2 separate regions of the Homo sapiens genome follow, and region 1 is linked to region 2. The links are contacts of gene promoters, found by promoter capture Hi-C in human tissues and cell types (Jung and others, 2019). All regions are on one chromosome and are shown on one strand. Each heading gives the region's core, a stretch centred on a gene start or on the middle of the fragment in contact. The rest is flanking DNA. Distances are from core to core; before and after follow the strand shown. Region 1 overlaps CFAP92 (cilia and flagella associated protein 92 (putative)). Region 2 holds the start of GP9 (glycoprotein IX platelet).

What was found. The method cuts DNA at HindIII sites, captures the fragments that hold promoters and counts their contacts. A contact is called where the count stands out against the background at its distance.
Region 1: a contact is called between a fragment that was not itself captured here and the fragment with the promoter of GP9 in region 2, in 2 of the 25 tissues and cell types used here (H1 embryonic stem cells and spleen).

Annotation. Positions count from the first base shown.
Region 1 is chr3:128,915,460-128,921,395 of GRCh38, forward strand. It overlaps CFAP92 (cilia and flagella associated protein 92 (putative)), which reads right to left. Exons shown (of 16, transcript NM_001394090.1): 13 at 648-812; 14 at 1-104. Among named protein-coding and RNA genes, the nearest start is that of ACAD9, 39 kb to the left of the region's middle. The HindIII fragment of the contact is 3,559 bases long and covers 304-3,862 here.
Region 2 is chr3:129,056,653-129,062,028 of GRCh38, forward strand. GP9 (glycoprotein IX platelet) reads left to right here and starts at 4,127. Exons shown (of 3, transcript NM_000174.5): 1 at 4,127-4,198; 2 at 4,842-4,967; 3 at 5,076-5,376. The coding sequence starts at 5,088. The HindIII fragment of the contact is 8,053 bases long and covers 1,832-5,376 here.

The DNA.
Region 1 (5,936 bases), core at 833-3,332, 140 kb before region 2:
TGGCGGGATTTCTTCTGGGCTTTCTTCTCCTCTTCCTTCAAGTCCAGGGGCTCCACCATGGCTGAGAGGTAATCCTGTGAGTACGTGAATCTCTTTCTTGGCTCCTAGAAATGGGGGCAGACAGGTTGGGGTGGAAGGGCTAATAGCAATCTTGGATTTATTTCCAAGTAGGAATCAGAAACAGCTGGGGGCATAATCATAGTTCCTGACAATGTAAATAGTGCATTGAGAGGAAATGACTGTGCAGTAGCCCTGTAAGGGACATATTATTGTCCCCTTTGATGGGAGAAGCCGTTTCCTAAAGTTAATATGTGCTGGAAGCCTAAACCATGGCTTTCCCTTCTGTTGGTAGCTGCCTTGATAAGCAGCAATCATAAAGTGTTCCCCAGAGGTAAGGATGCTACAGTTGTTCTCCTTTATGTACATCTGAGCTTACATTGAGGATCTTGGGCTTACCCTCAGGTGTGGAGGATTCACATTTAGTGTGGAACAGAACACCTCTCAACATCTGAGCCTTGTCTACTTCCCCTAGCTGATTGGCTTTCATCTGTATAGTTGAGATCCCCCACTGACCTCCAGGCAGGCATGGTCAGAATAAAGAACTCATGGGATTTGCCAACTGCCATCATCCTGTCTGGGTCTCTCACCTTGGCTATCTCTTGATACAGCTCCTTCTTGGCAAGCTCTGTAGAATTCATGGTCTGGGTACTATAGTTGTAGACGGCCTTGTTGGCAGGGGCTGAAATTTTAATCACCTTCGCCACGGACTTCGGAGGCTTCTTGCTGACCTGGTAGGCTTCTGTGATATTTTTCTGAAGAAAGAGACACCAGTCACTACCCACACCAGGTCATCCTCACCCCCCATGCCAGCTCATATGCAGTGAGATGATCTCTGGGACTTAGCTGTGGTGCAGGTATTGATTGATTCTTCAATACTGGTGCTGTTATTTCATCATAGAACCAGGGCAAAGGGCCAACTAGTCCAACCTCTCACTATCCAAAATGGAATTTAAGAGGACCAAAAAATTGAGACCCCTAAGGTCACTGTAACTGGAACACACATCATCTGGCCACTCATCTCCCAACCACCTTGTGATAAAGACAGAATTTGTGTCTCACATGGTCAGAAGTAGGAGAGTGTGGACAGGGGATATTACAACCTAAAGCAGCAAGGACTGCCATCCTTGACCATGGTTAACTGTCAAGTGTGCATAAGGATTATGACCCTCATTCTGTCCAGCAGGCCCAGTAAGGAAATGGGAACTCTTCCCTGAACAGAGAGAAATAAGATGGTCTGTTGGCTTCCTTTGTGAATGAAAATAGAAATGTGGAAGGAGATAAAAGACAACACAGAAGGCTGGGGGGAAAGGTGGCTGGGACCCAAAACAAGGGAGAACTGGGAAAGTTACCACTCTAAATTGTTGGGCACTGTGCAGTGTTTCATATGCATATTTCACAGTAACCTTCAGCAAAATACCATCTTTTACCTTTAAAAAATTTTTTAGCACAAGATGGTGACCTTAGCTCAACTACAGTGGCTTGACTTTGGAATCTTTGAGGAATTAATGCACAAGAATTTAAAATAATCAGGGGAGGACAAAATTTGTGATTCACACACATGAAAGAACAGACTGTCCAGGCAACAAGGGATGCAAGGTAAAGGCAAGTCTAGGTCCTCAGACTTTGGAGCACCTGCGAGAAGATTATACTAGGGATGCCACATAGAGCAAGGATCCTGTCATGGCCCACATGGAACTTCAATCAATATTTCTTGATGTGTCCAGTTTTTCTAGTTGTCCTTAGTGGGGGAGTTGATCTGAGTTTCTCAGTTAGCCATTCCTAGAAGTCCCCTGCTCCTTCCAAATCCTAGAATTCGTGAATTACAACCTAGGGGGACAGATTCTTCTTTCCATGCTACTCCTTTCTTACAATTTGAAGTTGAAATTCTGACCTAATGCTTATTACAGGGAAAGCAAACTGTTCCGTAGTTCTTCTGGGTGCCTGAGATTCTCTGCTGAGGGGTGACACCTGCAGGAGAATTTGGACTCAGAGCAAAAGTAACTAGATGCTGGAGAAGTAAATACAGTATTTAAAAAAGGCCACAGACTGAACAACTGAAGCTAAATTATTGGAAAAGATGGGCTAAGAATTTAACATAAGAAATTGTTTTAAAATAAGAGTGAAGATAGCAATATGAAGCAGAAGTAAAACTAAAAGAAAAAGTATTGAGTATGAAAATAGTTGAAATAGAAGACAAGAGAATGAGATATATTGCAGAAGTGATACTGTTGTAGAACGAATGAATGAACTGGAATATCCACTTGAGATATGCTTTCAGAAAGCAGTCCTGTATAAAAAAGATAAAATTAGAAACTGAGTATAGAGGATGGAAATAACATCCAAATAACAGAAATCCCAAAAGGAGGGGAAAAGTGAGAACAAGAAAATTTGAAGCAATAATGAATGTCAGAAAAGACAAAACTTCCAAGCCTGGGTACACTATTATTAGTGGGATTTAAGCAAACAAATACAAAGATAAACTCTCAAAGCTTCTAGAGGAAAAGAGCAGGCCACCTGTAAAGAAAAACTATCACTTGTGATCAGATCCACAACAGCAACAAGGTAAGTTAACTTCAACCTACAATTTCATATCCAAGCAAACTAATTGTGAGGGCTTAGGTTTAAAGGCCTTAGGTTTTACATAAAACCCTCCTTTAAAAACTCTTGGGGCCAGATGTGGTGGCTCATGCCTGTAATCCCAGTACTTTGGGAAGCCTAGGCAGGCAGATCATCTGAGGTCAGAAGTTCAAGACCAGCTTGGCCAACATACAGTGAAACCCTTTCCATACTAAAAAATACAAAAATTAGCTGGGCATGGTGGCACACGCCTGTAGTCCCAGCCACTTGGGAAGCTGAGGCAGGAGAATCGCTTGAATCCAGGAGGCAGAGGTTGCATTGAGCCGAGATCATGCCACTCTACTCCAGCCTGGGTGACAGAGCCAGACTCCGTCTCAAAAAAACAAAACAAAAGTCACAAAACTCTTTGGAGAAATTCAAAATGGAGGAGGAACATGCAGGAGGATTCAAGGTTAGCAAGTAATGTCCGATAGCCTAGTAAAGTTGTCTTAAAAGGACTAGGAAAATAAAATTTCAGAGCCTGGAATTGAAATTCTAGAGACTATAAAAGGGATGGTGGAGTGTGGGTAGGAGATGAGATAAAAGGGATGTAAATGTACAATTTGTCTTATAAAGAGAATATAGTTTTATGAGTTTAATGTTCAGTAGGAATGCCTAACCATATGGTCTTCAGGATAACCACCTTAAAAAGAAAGATAGAATGTATAACTTAAGTCCACAGAAGAAAACTTGATCTATCCAAGGAACACAGGAACGGAGGGTTTAAAAGTAGATTAGGTGGCAAAAATGCCTAACCTAACAGTAATTAATGTTAAGCTTGCCAATTAAAGAATCTCAGATTGGATTTTTTTTTTTTTTTTTTTTTTTTGAGACAGAGTTTTGCTCTTGTTGCCCAGGTTGGAGTGGAATGGCGCGATCTTGGCTTACTACAACCTCCGCCTCCCGAGATGAAGTGATTCTCCTGCCTCAGCCTCCCAAGTAGCTGGGATTACAGGCGTGTGCCACCACGCCTGGCTAATTTTGTATTTTTAGTAGAGACAGGGTTTCACCATGTTCAGGCTGGTCTCGAACGCCAGACTTCAAGCGATCCACCCACTTCAGCTTCCCAAAGTGTTGGGATTACAGGCGTGAGCCACTGCACCCAGCCTGGATTTTTTTTTCAAGCTAACAATATGCTATCTACAAAACTTTCAACACAAAGATACAGGTTTGACAACTAAAGGGAGACAGCATATACACTAGGCAAAAAGGCATGAGAAAACAAAGACAAAAAAGCTGTGTGGCATTCTTAATATCTGCTGAAACAATTCAAGTTAAAAATCTATCAAAAGGGGCAAAAGGATATTGTATATTGAGGACAACAAAAAGGGATAACTTGTAAATATATATGCACCTAGCAATATAGTCTCAAAATATATTAAGAAACAACTGACAGGATTACAAGAAGAAATAGACATCTATCTAACATCACTGGAGAACAACCAAGGCAACCAGGATTTGAGAGTCCAAGAATCTGGAGAAAAGGGAAATAATGGTGGTTCCATTTTCTTTTTGCAGTTTTCTCTCAAGGGATTTACTGACTCCTAATTTGCACATGGATAAGGCAGAAATAAGAACATAAGCAGAAAAAGAAGCTTAAGAAGTTTAGAAGCTAAGGAGGTATTTTGGAAAATGCTGCATTGCTAGAGAAACAAAATTGGATTTCAAAATTGGAAATTGTGCCAAGGAGGAAGGGCCCTGGTACCTCTAGGCCTCCAGTTTAGAATTCAGAAAATCTGCTTTAGGAGTAAGGGCAAGCCTGACTCTGATTAAGGAGATTTATCTGTCCTCTGTCTCCTGCTTTATCATCTCTGGAATAAGACATCAAGAGTCTCTATAGTTTTCAATACCCTCTTTACCATTTAACAAAAAATAACAGACATGCCAGGTAACAGGATGAAAAGATGGAAACCAAGAAAAAAGACAATAGAAACAGACCCCAGGTAATCCAGATATTGGAAGTATCAGACAAGAACATTAAAACTAGTCTGGACATGGTGGCTCATGCCTGTAATCACAGCACTTTGGGAGGCTGAGGTGGGTGAATCACCTGAGGTGAGGAGTTAGAGACCAGCCTAACCAACATGGTGAAACCCTGTTTCTACTAATATACAAAAATTAGCTGGGTGTGGCAGTAGGTGCCTGTAATCTCAGCTATTCAGAAGGCTGAGGCAGGGAGAATTGCTTGAACCCAGGAGGCGGAGTTTGCAGTGAGCCAAGATAGTGCTACTGCACTCTAGCCTGGGCCACAGAGCAAGACTCCATCTCAAGAAAAAAAAATTAAAATAATTATGATTAATCAAAATAAATGAAAATGAGAATTTCACCAGACACCTGGAACCTATAGAAAAAATAAATGGAAATCATAGAATTGAAGAAATCATCATTAAAGTTACAATCCAGTGGATGGGTTTAATTGCAGCTTGGACACAGTGTTGGGGAAAAGCTGAGTGTTGGGAAAAAGGCTGAGGCAGGGCTTGCATGTCTGACGTAACGTAAAAGAGTCTTGGAACATGTCCGGCGTCCAGGGTCTAAAACCCCTTGTGGCCTTTGGAACACCAAGCTCTGTTCCAAAGGGTGGAAGGCTGCCCTGCCGCACTACAATCTAAGCCCAGGGCACAAGCCACAAGGGCGTGGCTTGGACGGAATCCAGGGAACAGCGCATAAAACCCCTCGTGGCCTCTGGAATGTGTCTCGACTTGTTGGCTCCTTGCTTCTAGCACTCCAAGGCTCATAGATCGATTGTGTCTTAAACTAGAAGAATACGTTTCCCATTATCTCAAGTAGCAGAACATGTTCCATATGCTTCAAAGAAAATTCTAAACCATCACAGCTGTAGATCATGCACTTGATACACTGCTTTCTTTCAACCCCCACATCCTCACCACCTGCTTCTTTGATCACCAATAAATAGTGTGGGCTTCCAGAGCTCGGGGCCTTCACAGCCTCCATACTAGTGTTGGCCCCCTGGTCCCACTTTATGCACTCTTGTCTCATCTGTTTGACTCTGCCGGACTTCATAGTCCCCACAGCCTGGAGTTGGGTCTGATCACCCCAACATTCCTGGCGCCCAATATGAGGCAACGAACACCCCAGTGAAGGAACACTAGAGTGTGTGAAAGAGGATGCATCATCAGAGGACACCCGAGGACGACTGAAAGAAGCTCAGCAGGAAAGCTGAGCACTCGGAAGGACCAGGGTAACAATGGCACAAAGTGAAAGCAAACATTCTGCTCAGGATGTTTTAATACAGCTTCTTA
Region 2 (5,376 bases), core at 2,877-5,376:
GAGCTGCTGGGCCCATTTGCAAACAGATAAGCAAACGGCTGGGTGAGTGCGTCGAGGAGGGCTTCCCGTAAGAAGTTATGCCCCCGGTGAATCTTAAAGGATGCAGCATGCCAGGCAAAATTCCACAGGGCTCCAGAAAGAGGGCAGTGCAGAGGCAAAAGCACAGACAGAAGTTGGCATGTGGGTGGGGAGTGAGGGACATGGCTAGCCTACCACGAAGCTTCAGATCAGGAAGAGATGAGAGGTGAGGCTGGACAGGGTGGCAGAGGGTGTCCTGAAGACAGCAGGGAGCCATGAAAGACATGGAGCAGGAGTGTAGTGAGATTAAACCTGTATAGTAGAGGCAGAGGCCAGCATCAAGGAGACAGCAGTCCTGGCAAGACACAGATAAGGCCAGCACTAGAGAAGAGACAGCCAGCAAGGCTGACAAGTATGTATTAGATAATGCCCATGGGCCAGGCAGAGGTGCTGGGGAGGGAAGAGTTAATGGGACAGAGTCTCTGCCCTCTTGAGTTTCACATCAATGGGAGGAGACATTTAATAAACACATAAAAATGTAAAAATAAGATCATTTCAGATCCTGATCAATGCTAAGGAAGATATGAAATGGAATATTATGGTACAGAAGGATGGAGCTGTGCCTTGGCAAGGGAGGCCTTTGAGGAGGGGTCATCTGAATTGAGATGAGAATGATGATCAGGAGGAAGCCATGTGGGGCTCTGGGGGAAGGGCACTCCAGGCAGAGGGAACAGCAAGTGCAAAGGCCCTGAGGCAGGAAAGTGCTGGAGTGTTTGAGCAACAGGAAGAAAATTGGTGTGGCTGGACATTGATGAGCAAAGTAGACAGTGGGTGATGGGGTCAAGAAATAGGCAGGGGCCAAGCTACAGGGGGGCCTGTAGCTTCCTGACCACAGGGGCACGGGTTTTCTTTTATTTGCGATGGGAAGCCAAGAAGGCGAACGAAGACCAGAGCAGTAGCAGCACAGGGAGAAGTGGTTAAGTTCTGAATAGATCCTGGTGACTGAAATGACAGGAATTACTGATGGGTTGGACAGCAAGTAGAAGTGACTCTTCAGAGGAGTTTTATGGAAGAGAGAAGCAGAAAAATCAGATGGTAATTGGAGAAAGAGGTGGAATTAAGGAAGGATTTTTCAAAAGGGCAGGATTATAGGTTGCTTCTTTTTTTTTTTTTTTTTTTTGAGACGGAGTTTTGCTCTTGTTGCTCAGCCTGGAGTGCAATGGCGCGATCTCAGCTCACCACAGCCTCCGCTTCCTGGGTTCAAGTGATTCTCTTGCCTCAGCCTCCCAAGTAGCTGGGATTACAGGCATACACCACCACGCCCAGCTAATTTTGTATTTTTAGTAGAGATGGTGTTTCTCCATGTTGGTCAGGCTGGTCTCGAAACCCACTTTAGGCAGACCTAAAGTGATCTGCCTGCCTCAGCCTCCCAAAGTGCTGGGATTGCAGGCGTGAGCCACCGCGCCTGGTCTGGCTGCTCCTAACCTGATGGAATGACCCAGTGAAGGAGAAATTGATCATGCAGAGGAAGGGGCACCTGATGGGGCAATGTCCTGGAAGGATGGAGAGGGGACAACTCACAGCACAAGAGTGGGGCTTGGCCTTCGCCTTGGTTCCTATTGCTGCTGTCACAAGAGGCTTAATGCAGCACACATTTATTTTCTCATTCTTCATCACACAGCTCCTGTGGGTTCTCTTATTCCAGCCCTCCTGAGGTAGATCAGCAGGACCTGTTTTCTGAGCACCTGTCAGGACCCCCGGTCCCCAGCCTGCTGATGGCAGCAGGATCTGGTTGAAACAAGGTGTAGTGAAGAAGCTGGCAGACACCAGAAACCAGCAGATGGGAACGAAAGCAACCGCTAGTTGCCCTCACTGCTCACTAACATAGACACTCCCCCTGGCACCATGGTAGTTTACAAATGCCATGGCAGCACGCCATGGCAACAACCTGAAAGTTACAGGGTTCTGGAAACTCACCACCCCTTTTCTAGAAAGTTTGAAATAACCTGCCCCTGAATTTGCATGTAATGAATAGTGGCTGTAAGTGCAGTTGCCAAAAGCCCACACACTACTGCTCTGGGCACACTGCCTGTGGGGTAGCCCTGCTCCCAGAGAGCAGCACCTCTGCTATGCACTGCTGCTTCAATAAAGCGGCTTTCTTCACCACTGGCTCTTTGACTTCTTTCCTGGCCAAAGCCAAGAGCCCTCAGGGGCAAAGCCCTGATTTGGGGGCTCACCTGCCCTGCATCACTTGTAGGTGGAAATCAAGCTGCTGGCAGGGCTGCATTCCTCTCTGGAGGCTCTGGGAGAATCCACTTGCAGGCTCACCCAGGCTGTTTACAGATCCACTTCCTGCATTATCCTGTGCCTCTTGGGCAGATGGGTATGTATTTACCCATATGGGTAAATACACATGGGGAAAAAGCCTTGCCTGATGTTGGGATGGAGGGAAATTTTTATTTTCTTCTTCCAGTTCATCTGAACATTCTAATTTCCCACAACAAAAATCATTTATTTGTTATTTATGTAGTTTTTTAAATTCACAAAACCCATCTATGTTGATCTAGTTTTTTGTTTTAAGTTGTACATGCTGAAAATAAGGAAATCTCAGAGGCTCAAGAGGAAGGAGGGCACAGGCCCCACCAGATCTGGTCACAACACCTGGCCTGGCAGCTCCAGCACCCCCACTCACTCCAGAACCCCTTACCCACCTGCGTGGGGCTCACTGGTGAATGTGTGCAGGGCAGAGGAGGTGGAACATGCCAAGGCTCCATGGGGAGGGAGGGAAGGGCCAGACAGGCTGAGGCTCCTCTCCATGGTCCAGGCTCCGGTCAGAGTCCCCACTGAGCACATACCAGGGGACCCCCAGCAGCAACCAGGCCCCCGAGCAGGTGTGACATCAGTGGGGGAACAGCACCTTCCCCACCCTTCTCTGAGCCCAGCATCAGTGGGTGGAGGAAGCAGAGCTGGGGCCTGGCAGCCTCTCAGGGCCTCCTAGGAGGGTGAACACCCAAATCCTGCCCTACCCAAATCCAGAACCAGGAGGCGGGGAGAGAACAGGCGGCCTCCCAAGGAAGGACTCACCCTGCTTGGCCATGCAGGAGGAGGAAGGCTGGCCTGAGAAGGATGTGAGACCAAAATAAGAACAAGCACACCCCCACCCCCGTAGGGCCGAGGAATATTCCCGAGGGTCCTGAATGTCAACGAAGTGCGTTTAAAGCCTCCGTCAGCCTTCTGTCTTTGGCTTTTCCTGCCAGGCTTCTGTAACTTCTGTGTTTTTACCCTGTTTTATTTATTTTTTAAGACGGAGTCTCGCTCTGTCACCCAGGCTGGAGTGCAATGGCACGGTCTCGGCTCACTGCCACCTCTGCCTCCTGGGTTCAAGCAATTCTCCATCCCAAAATATATTTATCTTTTAAAGGAAGCTTTATGTCACTAACATAAATGGAAAATGGTGTCCCTCCCCTAAGTAGAATGTGCTCTAGAAGAAAATGTACTGCAAATGTTAAAACCATAGGCCAAAATTCTAGCTAGAGATTCACACTTGGTAGAGGCTCTGCTTCCCAGGCCTACAGCTGTTTGTTAGAAAGAGGCATGGAGAAGCACTAGGCAGGAGCTAAAAACACCATGGCACCAAGAAGAGACTCCGTCCTTGAGTATACAGGAGGAGGGAGGAGAGTTAAAAATGAAGTCACTCTCCCCACCATGGTGTTCTCAGCCAGTGGGAGCTGCCCAGCCCACACCTCTGTGAGGCAGGCAGGACCGGTCACTGCTCCCACTTTACAGATGAGGAAAACTGAGATTCGGAGGAACAACCAGCAGAGCCACGTTTCTCAGGGGTCTCCTAGTTCCCACCTTCTGGGAGCAGGTGAGGGGCCACCCTCAGTCCTCCACAGACCTGATTCCAAAGCCCATCAAGGCACTGGCGGCACAGTGGGACCCCCTTCTATAAACCGGGGTTGAGATGTGGTTCTGTGCCCAAGGCGCGGGCCCCTGAGGGCCTCCTGCCTCTGGAAATAGGCCCCAAGGCTGCACTGGGGGGATAAGCCAGGCTATTTTCATCACTTCCTTCCGCCCGCTCCCGCAGCGGCCACCTCAGCTGTATCCCATAGAGTTGCCACCCAGGCCTCAGCCAGGACCTTTCAGGCCAGACAGGAGCACCTGACCAAAGGCTTCACAGGTAAGTGGCCCTCCGTATTACCCAGCATGGCCTCCCACAGGGAGAGAGGAGGTCAGTTCCTGTCCCTTTAACAAGACAGGGTTGGGTGGGACATTCCCTCTGAGACACCATCTCCTTGGCTGAGTCAAGATGAGTGAGTTGATTTGACACTTATTCACTGGAAACCTGCTGTGGGTAGGGGGAGCTCTGCTGGTGGAGGGGAAACGCCTGTGGGGAAGAACCAAACAGAGGGCCACGGTTGCCGAGACCCGAGTGTGAGTCTGGCCTCTGACACCACACCGGTGGCCCTGGGCACATTGCTTTCCCTCTCTGGGCCTCAGTTTCCCCAAGTCAGTGTTAGCCCAGATGAGTGGTTTTCCAGATGGGGTCCCACTGAGTTCCCCTCCCTGCTCCAGCCAGTGTCCCTGTCCTGCTGTCTTCTGCATCTGGGAATCAGGTAACAGCTCACTTAGCTGGTGGGGGGTGCTGGGCGCAGCCTGCAGGGCCCTCCAAGGCTCTTTCCTAGTCTCTGGGGACTGTGGTCCTGGGCTGGGACTCATTTAGCAGCCATCTGCTCCTCTCATCCCCAAGCAGGGGATGGGGTCTCTGCTAAGGGCCAGGAAGTCCCTTCCCCTTCCCAAAAACAAACTTACCCAATCCACAGCCGCCCTCACCGCCCGGCCTTCTACGGTGTCCAGAGACAGTTAGCCAGGCCTGGGCTGGGCACACTCCACCTTCCCTAGTCACCAGCTGGTTTCCCAGAGGAGAAGGCTGAGACCCGAGAAGGGAGGTGAGTGCACCCCGTCCCATGTCAGGCTCCGCTACATCCCCAGTGCTTGCCGTCCCTGAGGATCGGTCCAGGCTGCCAGGCCCTCCCTCACAGCCCCTCTCTCTGCAGCCAGCCTGTCCCATGCCTGCCTGGGGAGCCCTGTTCCTGCTCTGGGCCACAGCAGAGGCCACCAAGGACTGCCCCAGCCCATGTACCTGCCGCGCCCTGGAAACCATGGGGCTGTGGGTGGACTGCAGGGGCCACGGACTCACGGCCCTGCCTGCCCTGCCGGCCCGCACCCGCCACCTTCTGCTGGCCAACAACAGCCTTCAGTCCGTGCCCCCGGGAGCCTTTGACCACCTGCCCCAGCTGCAGACCCTCGATGTGACGCAGAACCCCTGGCACTGTGACTGCAGCCTCACCTATCTGC